Regions from separate parts of the Homo sapiens genome. Here region 1 is linked to region 2. The links are contacts of gene promoters, found by promoter capture Hi-C in human tissues and cell types (Jung and others, 2019). All regions are on one chromosome and are shown on one strand. The core of a region is centred on a gene start or on the middle of the fragment in contact, and the rest is flanking DNA. Distances in the headings are between cores, read along the strand shown.

Region 1 (6,526 bases), core at 1,536-4,035, 150 kb before region 2:
AGTGAGTACATTTGCCAGTAGGGAGTTTGGGTTAGATACTACAGGAAATCTTGGAATAACAATTGTATTTATATCTCTAAGATCTTGTACAAGTCTTCATTCTTATCTGTGCAGTTTTTTGACAGATAAGATGGGAGTAGTGCAAGGATTGGTACAAGGAATAACAAACCTTTTTTATTAACTCCTCTATTATAGGAGTAAGCCCTTTTATGGCTTTAGGTTTTAAACAGTATTGAGGCAACTTAGGAAGCAATTTTGGAGGATTAATCTGAATTTTAATAGGTTTAGCACTTTTGATTTTTCTCACATCTGTAGAAGAAGATATCCATAGAGTGTCAGGAATTTCAGAGACATCTATAATATCTATATTTTAATGAAATTTAGTAGTTTCCTCAGCACAATTTGGGTTTAGAAAACACATAATATTTCAGTGTCTAATAAATCTTGACTTTCTAATGTTGTTTCTCCTAAGGAAAATTGAATTTGACCTCTCAGTTTAGAAAGCAGGTCTCTACCTAGGGCAGTATTATTACCTAACAGAAAAGCATAATTTTCAGAGAAGGGGCAGAGGGTGATAGTTATGAGTTCCAATAAAAAAACCTTTGAATTTCAGAGAGTTTCCACCATTGAGTTTTTTTTTTTATTATTCTGAAGAAGTTCTTGATTTATCATGGTGGAGTTCAAAGTGGAGAGAGTTGCTTCAGTGTCTACTTACACAGAACAAATTTCTCTATTTTTAAAATTTAGTTTCCGTTTGTTGATTTAAAGAAATTATTGGAAGTGGTTTACCTTGCCATTCCTTGGAGCCCCATTAGTATTGACAGTTATCATAGGAGTCAGAAAGTTCAGAATCTCCCTTTTGTTTCCAGTCTGATAGTCTAGATTGCTGTGTTAAGGGGTTTAATGGGTAATTCTTCCAATGTCCTATTTGTTTACAATAATGAAAAATGTCTTTATTGAAAGAGTTGTTGGATAAAGGTATTTTAAAGTTAGGCTGAGGCCCCTGCAATGACTGTAATTACAAAATCATCAATTTATTTGTCTGGTGGTTACTTTATTTGTTCTAAGTTTTTCCCAAAATGTTTTGCTAAATATTGTAATACTGTCATGGGAGTCACTTCGCTTTCTACTTTATGTTTCTTTCATACGTCACTTATCTGTATGTGCAGCCCATTAACAAAATGGGCTGACATAGCCACTTCATCATTTTGGCCACTATGGCCAAAATGTTTAAATATTTTGTACTGTTTAAGTATTTTTTTCTAAGCAGAAACAATAATCCACAGCAGATTCGTCTTTTTTCTGTTTGCAAGATTGGTTTATGGCCTTGCTATGGTTTGAATATAGTTTGTCCCCTCTGAAACTCATGTTTCATCTTAACCTGCTATTAAACAGTACTGAGAGGCAGGAGGTTTAATAGGTGATTGGGTTATGTGGGCTCTGCCCTCATGAATTGATTGATAGGTTAATGGATTAATAGGTTATCATGGAAGTGGGTTAGTTATTACAAGAGTGGGTTTGTTATAAAAGCCAGTTTGGCCATCTCTAATGAACTCTTCACCATGTAATGCCTTGTGCCAACTCCTGACACTGCAGTTTCCAACAGCAAGAAGACTCTCTCAAGGTACACTCCCTAGACCTTGGACTTCCAAGCTTCTAGAACTGTTAGGAATATTTATATTTTATAAATTACTCAGTCTAAGGTATTCAGTTACAGCAGCAGAAAATGGACTAAGACATGGACCAATCTGTTCTCTTAGAAAAAGCCTCAGACATGGTTTCTTTTTAGTCTACTCTTAGAAGCATGCTTAACAGAATCTTCAAAATCTTTAATGGGATTCTTCCAATCCATTTCTTGAAGCCATTTTTGAATACCTCCAGGGCTGAGTACCACGTAAACAAATTGATATAAATCAGGGATTCCTGGATCATAAGCACCCAAAGGAATTTAAAATTCTTGTTTAAATTTAGTTTAGTCTCTTTTAAGGTCTGGAAAATTATGTGGCTTGGAGTTCAGCTAGAGATAAAAGTTTAAATTCTGCTGAGATTGGTACCCCAGGTTCATTAGAAAGTCTTATTTTAAAGGGCATTTTATGGTGAAACGGTTTGGAGGAAACAGCAAAGGATCAACAGTTAGTAGTTTCAGAATAATTAGGGAATAGATGATATAGAGAAGCAGAGAGATTTAACAGGCGGTTCTGTTGCATCAGTACAGTCAATCTGAATTTTGGTCTTTACTTTCTTATTAGCATGCTGTAAGGATTTTTTAGAGAGGTGATTCTAGAGTCATTTTGTCTTTCAGAAGCCTCTTTATACCAATTGAAGAATGTATCCCATTGTTTTGGGGAGGTTTCATATTCTCCTTTTTTCAAGGTGCCTCTAAGATAAGCTTATTTTATCTAAGTTAAAGGTTCTCCAAGTGGCTTCGGCAATTCTAAATTACCCTTAGAAAAGTTCACCCATTTTTCTGAAAAGACACAAAATCTCAGCCTATAGTTCTTAAACATGTAAGTAGCTGGAAGATTTCCAGGTGCTGTGGACTGAGAGGAACTCATCCTAACCTTTGTAGTCCTTAAGATGTCAAGTAAACCCTGGAGGGGCTAGACAAAGGAGCTACTGTTCTAGGACCCAGGGAAACAAAAATCCCTGACCTCACTTTTTGAACAGAAGAGAGCAACTTACCCCAGTTCAGACAAACCAACAGAAACAATCAAAATAACCCTTTTATGTACAACAGAAAGCTCAAATGCAGAGAGTGGTGGCATTTTGCTTTAGCAAAGAGACTGGTGTCATTTTGCCCCTGCCCTAGAGATCTGTGGAATTTTGAACTTGAGAGAGATGATTTAGGGTATCCGGCAAAGAAATTTCTAAGCAGCAAAGCATTCAAGATGTGACCTGGATTATTCTGAATGTATTCAGTTTTAGGTGCTCACAAAGAGATGGTTTGAAATTGGAACTTATATTTAAAAGGGAAGCAGAGCATAAGGGTTTGGAAAATTTGCAGCCTAACCATGTGGTAGAAAAGAAAAACCCATTTTTTTCTGGGGAGAAATTCAAGCTGGCTTCAGAAATTTGTATAAGTAACAAGGAACTGAATGTTGATAGCCAAAACAATAGGGAAAATGTCTCCAGGGCATGTCAGAGATCTTTGCAGCAGTTCCTCCTATCACAGGCTGAGACGCCTAGGAGGGAAAAATGGTTTTATGGGCCAGGCCTAGGACCCAGCTGTTCTATGCAGCCTTGGGACTTGGGGCCCTGTGTTCCAGCGGCTCCAGCTGCAGCTGTGGCTAAAAGGGGACAAGGTACAGCTCATCCATTGCTTCAGAGGATGCAAGCCCCAAGCCTTGTTGGCTACCATGTGGTGTTGGGTCTGTGGGTGTGCAGAAAATAAGAGTTGAGTTTTGGGAACCTCTGCCTAGATTTCAGAGGATGTATGGAAATGCCTGGATGTCAAGGCAGATGTCTGCTGCAGGGGTAGAGCCTCATGCAGAACCTATGTTAGGGCACTGTGGAAAGGAAATGCGGGGTTGGAGTCCCCTCACAGAGTCCCCACTGAGGCATTGCCTAGTGGAGCTGTGAGAAGAGGGCCACTGTCCTCCAGACCCCAGAAAGATAAATGGGAGGTGATTGGATCATGGAGAAGGTTTCCCCCATGCTGTTCTCATGAGGGAGTTTTCATGAGAGCTGATGGTTTTCAAGTGTTGCACTTCCTGGCTCTTGGTCTTTCTCTCACCTGCCACCATGTAAGACGGTAAGACTTGCCTTGCTTCCTCTTCACCTTCTGTCATGATTGTAAGTTTCGTGAGGCTTCCCCAGTCATGCAGAACTGTGAGTCAATTAAACTTCCTTTGTTTATATATTACCCAGTCTCAGGTAGTATCTTTATAGCAGTGTGAGAATGGACTAATACACCATTTTTACCACTTTTACTGCTTCCATCCTAGACGAAGCCACTCTCATTTACCACCACAAAAGCCTCTTAATTGGGTTTCCTGCTATTTCCCTTAATCCTTTTACAATCCATTATCAATGTAGCACATAAAATGCTTCTTTTAACCTACAAGGTAGATCATGTCATGCCTTAGCTTAAAATTCTCTAATGGAATTGCATCTTACTTTAAAAGCTAATTTCCTCTTTAGGACCTACATGACACCATGTGATGCGGCCACTATTAATCTTGCTGATCTCATCTCTTATTATCCTCCTCCTTTGTTTCTCCACTCCACACTGGCTTCCTTGCTGCTTGTCTTTGAGGTGCACTCTCACCACTCCCCTGACGTGTACAAGTAAGTACTTTTATTACCGTCTGTATATCTTTTCTGTGTTTCTTTTACAAATACGAGCTTATATAATTCTTATTTTCTTCTCTTTCTCAAACAAAAATATATACCATATAGACTTCTCTGCACCTTGGTCTTAATTAGTCTGGTAGATCTGTTCATATCAGTGTACAAAGAACTTCTTTCTTTTACAGATGACTTGTATTTCATTGAACAAGTAAATGTACCATAATTTATTTTATAAGTCCCCTGTTGGTGAACTCTTGAACTGTTTTCTAATAGGTTTTAATACAAACATTGATGCAATAACTTTGTACAGATACGTTTTAATATGTGTGAAGGTATACCTGTAAGATAGTTATGGGAATTCTTTGGTCAAAGGGTAAATGTGTTTGTAATTTAGATAAATATTGCCAAATTGTTCTTCTCATCTGCAATGTGTGAGGCAATATATGTTTTTCCACATACATCAACAACAAAGTGTACAGTCACTCTTGAATTGTGTCTACCTAAATTATAATATATGAATTCACAATGTAAATTTATTTGTATTTCCATCATTATAAGTGATAATTAATACATTATGCTTAGGTTGTTAGGGGCCATATTTTTTCTCAATGTCTATACCTTTTACCCATTTTAACTTTAGGATTATTTTTCAATTCCTCTCAATTTCTAGGAACTCTTTTTATATCAAGGTAATAAACCCTTGTCTGTGATATGGTCTGAAACTATATTTTCCTGAATTTGTTATTTGTTTTTGTCTAACAGAATTTTTTTTGTCTTGCACAGTTATATTTATTAATTGTACATGGTGCTGTCTTATATTAATGCTGTCCAAAAGAAATGTAATGCAAGTCACAAATGTGAGCCACATGGGAATTTAAAATATTTAAAACACCACCTTAAAAAAGTAAAAAGAAAAAGAAAAAGTAAAAAAGTAAAAAGAAAAAGAAAAAAAGTAAAAAAAGTCATTACAAGTTTTTCAGGAAAGAGTTATATGAACAATAAATGCTGAGTTTTGAAAATTCAAAACTATTTGTTTATAGCCTTTATGGCTGAAGGACAACATGGCTGGATATACAATTTTGATGTACAGTTTGTTTCTTTTGAGAGTCTTATAGGTTTTGTTACTCTGTATTCCGGTGACAGATGAGAGATATAATGCCAAATGGATTTCTGTTTCTTATAAGTGACTTGACTTTTGTTTTCTTTGCCTGACTTCCAAAGGATTCTTTTTCTATATTCTTTTAAATCTTTAAAGTGTAATAATTTTATTGGGATATTTTATTGTTGAATATTCTGGATCAGTTTTCCCTTTTATACAATTGTGATGGTTAATACTGAGTGTCAACTTGATTGGATTGAAGGATACAAAGTATTGACCCTGGGTGTGTCTGTGAGGGTGTTGCCAAAGGAGATTAACATTTGAGTCAGTGGGTTGGGAAAGGCAGACCCACCCTTAATCTGGGTGGGCACAGTCTAATCAGCTGCCAGCATGGCTAGAATATAAGCAGGCAGGAAAATGTGAAAAGAGAGACTGGCCTAGCCACCCAGGCTACATCTTTCTCCTGTGCTGGATGCTTCCTGCCCTCAAACATAGGACTCCAAATTCTTCAGTTTTGGAACTCAGACTGGCTCTCCTTGCTCCTCAGGCTGCAGACGGCCTATTGTGGGACCTTGTGATCATGTGAGTTAATACTTAATAAAGTCCCGTATATCTGTGTCTATGTCTATGTCTATGCCTATGTCTATGTCTATGTCTATGTCTATGTCTATGTCTATGTCTATGTGTATATCTATGTCTATCTCTATTTCTATCTCCATCTATCTCTATCTCTATCTATCTCTATCTCTATCTCTATCTCATCTATTCCATTAGTTCTGTCCCTCTAGAGAACCCTGACTAATACAGATTTTGGTACCAGGAGTGGAGTTCTAGAGGAACAGAATATTAAGGATGGAGTTCTTTAATTGGTTTTGGGGTTTCTGGAGTTGGCTGCTTAATATGATTAGACCCCAAAATGCTAAGGACTCTACTAAAAGTATGGAGAACACTGATAGTCCTTGGCATGAACTGTTTAGAGAGTTATGCAAAATAAATGCATTTGACACTCCTGATTCATCGTTTGTGAGAGGCAAGGAGTTTAGTGACTCTAGACATTGTACCTTTGACCATATGTGGAGAACCAAGGAACATAATGAAGCTGGTTGGGTATTCCTAAGTTCAGTGGACAAAGTGATG
Region 2 (6,626 bases), core at 2,294-4,793:
ATAGGTATACATGTGCCATGTTGGTTTGCTACACCCATCAACTTGTCATTTACATTAGGCATTTCTCCTAATGCTATCCCTCCCCCAGCCCCCTACTCTAATTATTACCATATACCATTTATATAGCATTTTACTATATTTATTTTAAGAGATTTCATATGATCAGTGTTGATTGATAGTCATAAAATGATATGAATCACTTGAAATAATACTATCTGAGCATTTGTAAATCTGCTCTGAGAGGCTACATATAGTTGTACAAGGTTTCACAATTCCTAGGTAGAATACCTGGACTTGAAGACAAGACTATTAGACTCTGAGTCCAGATCTCCTTTAAATTGTTATATATTCAATCAGTAGGGATTTACTGAGCTCCTAGTATCTACTGGTTACTATGTTAAAAGTGCTGAAGCACTAATGGTGAACAAGACATAGACATTCTTGGTTCCTCTAGAGCTAATAATCTGGTAATTGCCTACATATGAGTTGTACTTTTAGCTTTTGGTATAGCACAGAGTAATAAGTAAATTCCTTCCCCTGTGCATTAATCATTCAGTTATCACATTGCTTCATGGGTGCCTCTTCTCTAGACAAAATATGTCCTTTTTCTTCAACATAGGAGCTATTACTTTTCTCTGGACACCCTTAATTTCGTCAGCATCTTTCTTAAGGAGTGGCATTCTGAATTAGACACCCAGGCTCCCAGTATGATCTGGTGGGTGTGTAGTGCTCAGAGACTGTGGCCTCAGAAGACTTGAAGGTTGAATTACTAGGAGTGCAACCTGGACTCATCACAGCTATTTTGATTTCTCATGGCAGTGTTCATTTTTATGGTTCGTAAAATCACAAGACCTTCTTTCTGTGAATTGTGACCAAGTCAGATCTCTCCCATACTGTACTCAAACATTGGAAACATTTAAATGCTGACCTTTAATGCATTCCTATTAAATTTTACTTCGTCATCTGGAATATTATTACATACCTTGAGGTCTTCTTTATCTTGCTTCTCTCATCTCTAAGGTTGTCTTTCCCAGTTTTGCATTATTAATAGGTTAGATAATCACGTGCTGTATTAGTTTGTTTTCACACGCTGATAAAGACATACCCAAAACCAGGAAGAAAAAGAGGTTTAATGGACTTATAGTTCCACCTGGCTGGGGAAGCCTCACAGTCATGGTGGAAGGCAAGGAGGAGCAAGTCACGTCTTACATGGATGGTGGCAGGCAAAGAGAGAGAGCTTCTGTATGGGGAACTGCTCTTTTTAAAACCGTCAGCTCTTGTGAGACTTACTCACGATCATGAGAACAGCACGGGAAAGATTTGCCTCCATGATTCAGTTACCTCCCACAGGGTCCCTCCCACAACACATGGGAATTCAAAATGATATTTCAGTGGGGACAAGGCCAAACCATATTATGTGCTTTATGCTACTAATAAAAAGGTTAAACCGAACAAGTTCAAAGACAAAACTCAGTAGTACTTTATTCAGACAGGTTAGTCTAAATCTGTTAACCTTATACTTGCAACTCTGATCATTCATTAATTCTGCAAATTTTAATAAATGCTTTATTTTAAGCTAAATGCTGAGATGAAAAAATGAAACCATATGAGTTAGCAAAGTAGAAAATATAGGCATATTAATCAGTAAATGCAGAATGATAAATGCTCCATCAATATGCACTTGTTGTAGTGAGGCCACCGAGGAGGGTGCAATCCTCTCAACCTGGGAGGAGCAGGTAGGACTTCAGATGTCATCCAACTCAAAGATATAGTGAGGGACTTGATCAAACATTTGCCAAGACCACTATGAGTTAAATGAATAGATTAGGCATTTCTCCAATGTTGCAAGCTTCGAATCATATCCAAACTCAGAACAACATAGCTTGGTCATAATGATCCCAAGGATCCTATTGGCCATTGTCTTTGAGCCTCAAAGGAACATATTAAAACTCCATAATACCCTTTTGATCTATTCTGAAGTTAAGTAGTGAATTTACATGATGATGACACAAACACTGTAAAGGACCTCTGGGTTACTTGTTTATAAGCTAGTATTTCCTGAATCAATTTTTCTGATCCCTAGATATTTGGTAGGTGAAGTCATACCTATATATCCCCACACCCTAGAACAGCATCTCCAACTTATTTTTCCCTCCTTGTCTTTTAGTGGGAGCCACATCAGTATCCAAGAGGAGATCCAGAAGCCTCTCCAACCAGGTAGGGACAGTTATAGATTCCAGACCTCAGCTATGGCCTTTGTTACAGAGTACAAATGTTATATAGTACAAGTTTATTGTACACATCCCATTGAGTCTCTGAGCTTTAGAATTTTCTTGTAGAATTTAACAGTTTTTTCATGCCGTATTTACATATTATTGCTAGTATTTAGAATTTTCTTCTCCAAATGTATAACGTTTATTATTGCATTTTTTGTATCCACTAAGTGGAAAATCATGCATTAGATATTGTAGAAGTAGATACAACAATGAACAAGAACTGGTCCTGACCATGAGAGGAACTGATGATCCAATGGGGGAGATAGACCTGCACGTGTTTAATAAAAGGAAGTGGCTATTCCGGTTTCTTTTTGATGGGCAAGCATTTTGCAAGGCCTTGGGCTATGTGTGTGCAAGGCTAAGCCAGTTAGTTAATTGGGATTTTTTTAAAAAGGCACTTCACTGGGGGGAAAAGGAACATAGAGTTGGTTATTGTCCCCTTGCCTATAATAAAAACCTATTATTTTTAATTTTTTAACTGGGTTTGCGGTTAAATCTCACAGCCCAAGAGATTTGCCACTTCAGATGGATTCCATACACTTGCATTTAAGTATGCAAAAAAATTCCAATTATCCAGCAATTTAACCAAATTATTGGTAACTTTTCTAAAACAAAAAAAAATTGTTTCCCTTGTTTTGGCAGCAATTTCAGTTACAGTCCTTTACTTTCTACTCAAGAAAATAGTTTCAAAAAGTTGATGTTTGTTGCTAAAAGAACTATTTTTATGAATAAATATAAAACTAAGAAGTTATGGTGTCCCTTTTTTAAAAAATGACTCATCAAAAGAAATAACTTTTTCCTTTCTCTTGTAAGAGAAAAAAATTAATCTCTTTTAGAATTGCAAACATATTTCCTTGATGGAGAAAATCAATTCACATGGCATAGTCGTTATTTATCCAGTTCAAAAACCAGAGTAGAATTTACTACTCTGTCTCCATTTTTTCTCTCCCCACCCCCTTAACCCACATTGGATTCAGAAAGCTTCATTCTGCAATCAGCATTGTCCTTTATCTTTCCAGTAAAGATAGCCTTTTGGAGTCGAAGATGAGGAAAAGCCTGTATTTTATAGTCTTGGAAGTGTCTTCTTTTGCCAGGACAGAGAGAGGAGCTTCAGCAGTGAGAGCAACTGAAGGGGTTAATAGTGGAACTTGGCTGGGTGTCTGTTAAACTTTTTTCCCTGGCTCTGCCCTGGGTTTCCCCTTGAAGGGATTTCCCTCCGCCTCTGCAACAAGACCCTTTATAAAGCACAGACTTTCTATTTCACTCCGCGGTATCTGCATCGGGCCTCACTGGCTTCAGGAGCTGAATACCCTCCCAGGCACACACAGGTGGGACACAAATAAGGGTTTTGGAACCACTATTTTCTCATCACGACAGCAACTTAAAATGCCTGGGAAGATGGTCGTGATCCTTGGAGCCTCAAATATACTTTGGATAATGTTTGCAGCTTGTAAGTTATTTCCCTTCATCTGTTTCAAATGTTAGCATTCAATTTTAGCCCTGGTTTTGGCTTCAGTCAGTTTTGCGATAGTAGTGAAGTAAAGACACTAGGATTTTAAACAGTAGGAAAAGTTAATTTAGTCTAACTTTTAATATGCAATTGAGTTTTGCTATATACCATTGTACTGTCATAGTTAGAGCTGAAAATTGATGTTTTTGGTATCTTTTTTTCCAAAGGCAATTGAGTAATTTGGATTCTGTCTCTAGTCGGTCTGTCTCTTTAGTTTCCTATACTTGACAATGAGGTCAAACTTAGCAAATAACAAAACAGCTTTGATAAATGGGCATCAAGGTTGGAACTGAGAATTCTCTCTACTGAAGATGATTCCATAAACTTTTTTGGCAGTGACTTCGGTGCTTTTTGGCTACCTTGCAGTTAGTTTGAAGCAGCTTAGGAAAGAGATCAGTCTGATCATATTTTAGACATTATACAGAGAAGAAGGAGGAGAATACTAGACAAACTAGTGGTAAATTTGCTTCTGTCTTTTTTTGCTTTTGCAGCTCAAGCTTTTAAAATCGAGACCACCCCAGAATCTAGATATCTTGCTCAGATTGGTGACTCCGTCTCATTGACTTGCAGCACCACAGGCTGTGAGTCCCCATTTTTCTCTTGGAGAACCCAGATAGATAGTCCACTGAATGGGAAGGTGACGAATGAGGGGACCACATCTACGCTGACAATGAATCCTGTTAGTTTTGGGAACGAACACTCTTACCTGTGCACAGCAACTTGTGAATCTAGGAAATTGGAAAAAGGAATCCAGGTGGAGATCTACTGTGAGTGCTTTAGAAAATCTTTGTTTTTCTCTCAATTTTACTTTAAAATCACTTTTTAAAAATGATATTTTAAAAAAAGTTTTAAAATGGATATTCATGTACAGATTCTTGGCTAAAGAACATACAACATCAGGAAAGCTAGGGACAGCTAAGGCCAACATGAGAGAGAGCAGGAATCCAAATCTTGGCTTCTATTTCTACCTCTGCCACAAACACAGTGACCATGTATAAGACTCAACCTCTCTGGGCTCTGGTTTCCTTAGCTGTAAAATGATCATTTCTAAGTTTCTTTTTGTTTTATTAAAAAATATTTCCATTTGATTACATCCTTACATGTTTACTTGCTTATGTGTCTGATTGATTTATGAATTCCATCCTTCAGGGATTTTCTATTCATTTATTCTTATGCAATTTGATGCTTAAAATTAGTTTAAACATTAAGTAGATCTATAATTAGTAATATGTATTAGTATAAAAGTGTTCTTCTTAGACATAATTGTTAATATCTGGAAACATTTCAATCATTTGACTTTGGTGTTGACACATTTAGGATTTTTTTTTGGTTTTTTTGGTGCCATGAAGCCTTGGTGCTCAACCGCTCAACTTCAAAGATATTTATATAATGAACTAGATTTGCCTCATGAAAGTGAGTGGATGTCCCTAGTTTACCAGCCTGACAAAATGCATCCCACTCCATTCTCCATTCAGCAAACAAAGTTAGCAAGAGGAGTAAAAAACTAACCAGACATAAATCATTTGCCTTTTGTTACTGATGGCCTCTCTTTCTAAAAAACTGAACCCATTTACGGTCATGTCTTCATGAAGACCTCATTTGATTATAATTACTTTGGTTTCGTTTTATTGTACCGGAGCTCAACTTTTCCCAGTAACCTTAATTGATTCTGCAACAAACCGCATGTGTTGCTCAAGCTTCCCAAGAAACTGTGCTTGGCCGGCTGCTTTCAATTATGCTGGTTGTATGTGCATAGTTTATGTCTGTGCAGCCTCCCGAGCTCCTTGAAAGCTTCCCTTATGTAAATACAGGGAAAAGTAGCAAGTTCTTATGTTACCTGACATCGAACTGTGTGGATTAGAGGAACATTTCTTACAGAATATGAGGGACAGAAATTATTGCTGGAAAAATGAAAAATACCATGTTTCTTCACATAGGAAAGAATTTCCAGCTCCTTTGTCTTTTGCCCACTAGTACCAAATAGTTGAAGATTTAAGAAAGAGAAATGAAGACGCTTCTGGTTTTAATTATCTTGCCTGAGGTTTTTCTCCAAGAGTGTCTGTTTCTCATTATGTATAACAGTTCTGTCTCCTTTCCGCATTTGATTGTAATAGTGGTTAGAGTTGAGACCTTTGTATTCTTTTTGCTACACAGTTTTGAATCCACCAATATGTTACTTCATCATAATGCATAATGAAAAAGGTAACTCTTGCAAAGGAGGCAATGGCCACGTGAAGTAGTGTATTTCCTTGTACTAGAAGCTTCAATGGAACACTTGTTGGGATAGTGAGTTAGGCATTTCAGGAGGCAAATATGTGTTCCAGAACATAAAGATTGCACAAATGTATCTTTCTGGTGGATGAATTCCTGTCAGAGGCACCATTTTCAGAAGCTAATTACTTAAAGTTGGTCTTCTCATTTCTTAGAATATCTTGACAATAACTATTCTTTGCAATGACATTCCAAGGCTTACAGTCATTATCTGTAAAATGGAAATATATCTGCCCTGACTATAATAAGAAAATGTGATGTAACATAATGTAAATCTGTAGTAGCAAAACACAATAATGGAAATCCTGAGTTTAAATCCCAGCTTTACCATTTACTAGGTGTGTGACCTTAGACAAGTTATGTAAATGTACTAAGTCCAGGTCTTCTTTTCTGTGAAATGTGATCTCTATCTCCTAGAGTTATTGTGAGGATAAAATGAAATCATTCATGTTAAATCTATAGCACAGTGACAGCCACATGTAAGGTTCAATATAAACATTATTTTTTCTTCTTTCTTTTACTGTAATAACATGCAACTCTTAATATATACAGGATCAGAATTGAATAAT

What was found. Contacts are between HindIII fragments. The study calls those that stand out against the background at their distance.
Region 1: a fragment that was not itself captured here is called in contact with the fragment with the promoter of VCAM1 in region 2 in 3 of the 25 tissues and cell types used here (H1 embryonic stem cells, mesenchymal stem cells and mesendoderm cells).

Annotation. Positions count from the first base shown.
Region 1 is chr1:100,561,969-100,568,494 of GRCh38, forward strand. No RefSeq gene overlaps it. Among named protein-coding and RNA genes, the nearest start is that of GPR88, 27 kb to the left of the region's middle. The HindIII fragment of the contact is 5,988 bases long and covers 1-5,779 here.
Region 2 is chr1:100,716,199-100,722,824 of GRCh38, forward strand. VCAM1 (vascular cell adhesion molecule 1) reads left to right here and starts at 3,544. Exons shown (of 9, transcript NM_001078.4): 1 at 3,544-3,726; 2 at 4,278-4,553. The coding sequence starts at 3,663. The HindIII fragment of the contact is 2,330 bases long and covers 2,554-4,883 here.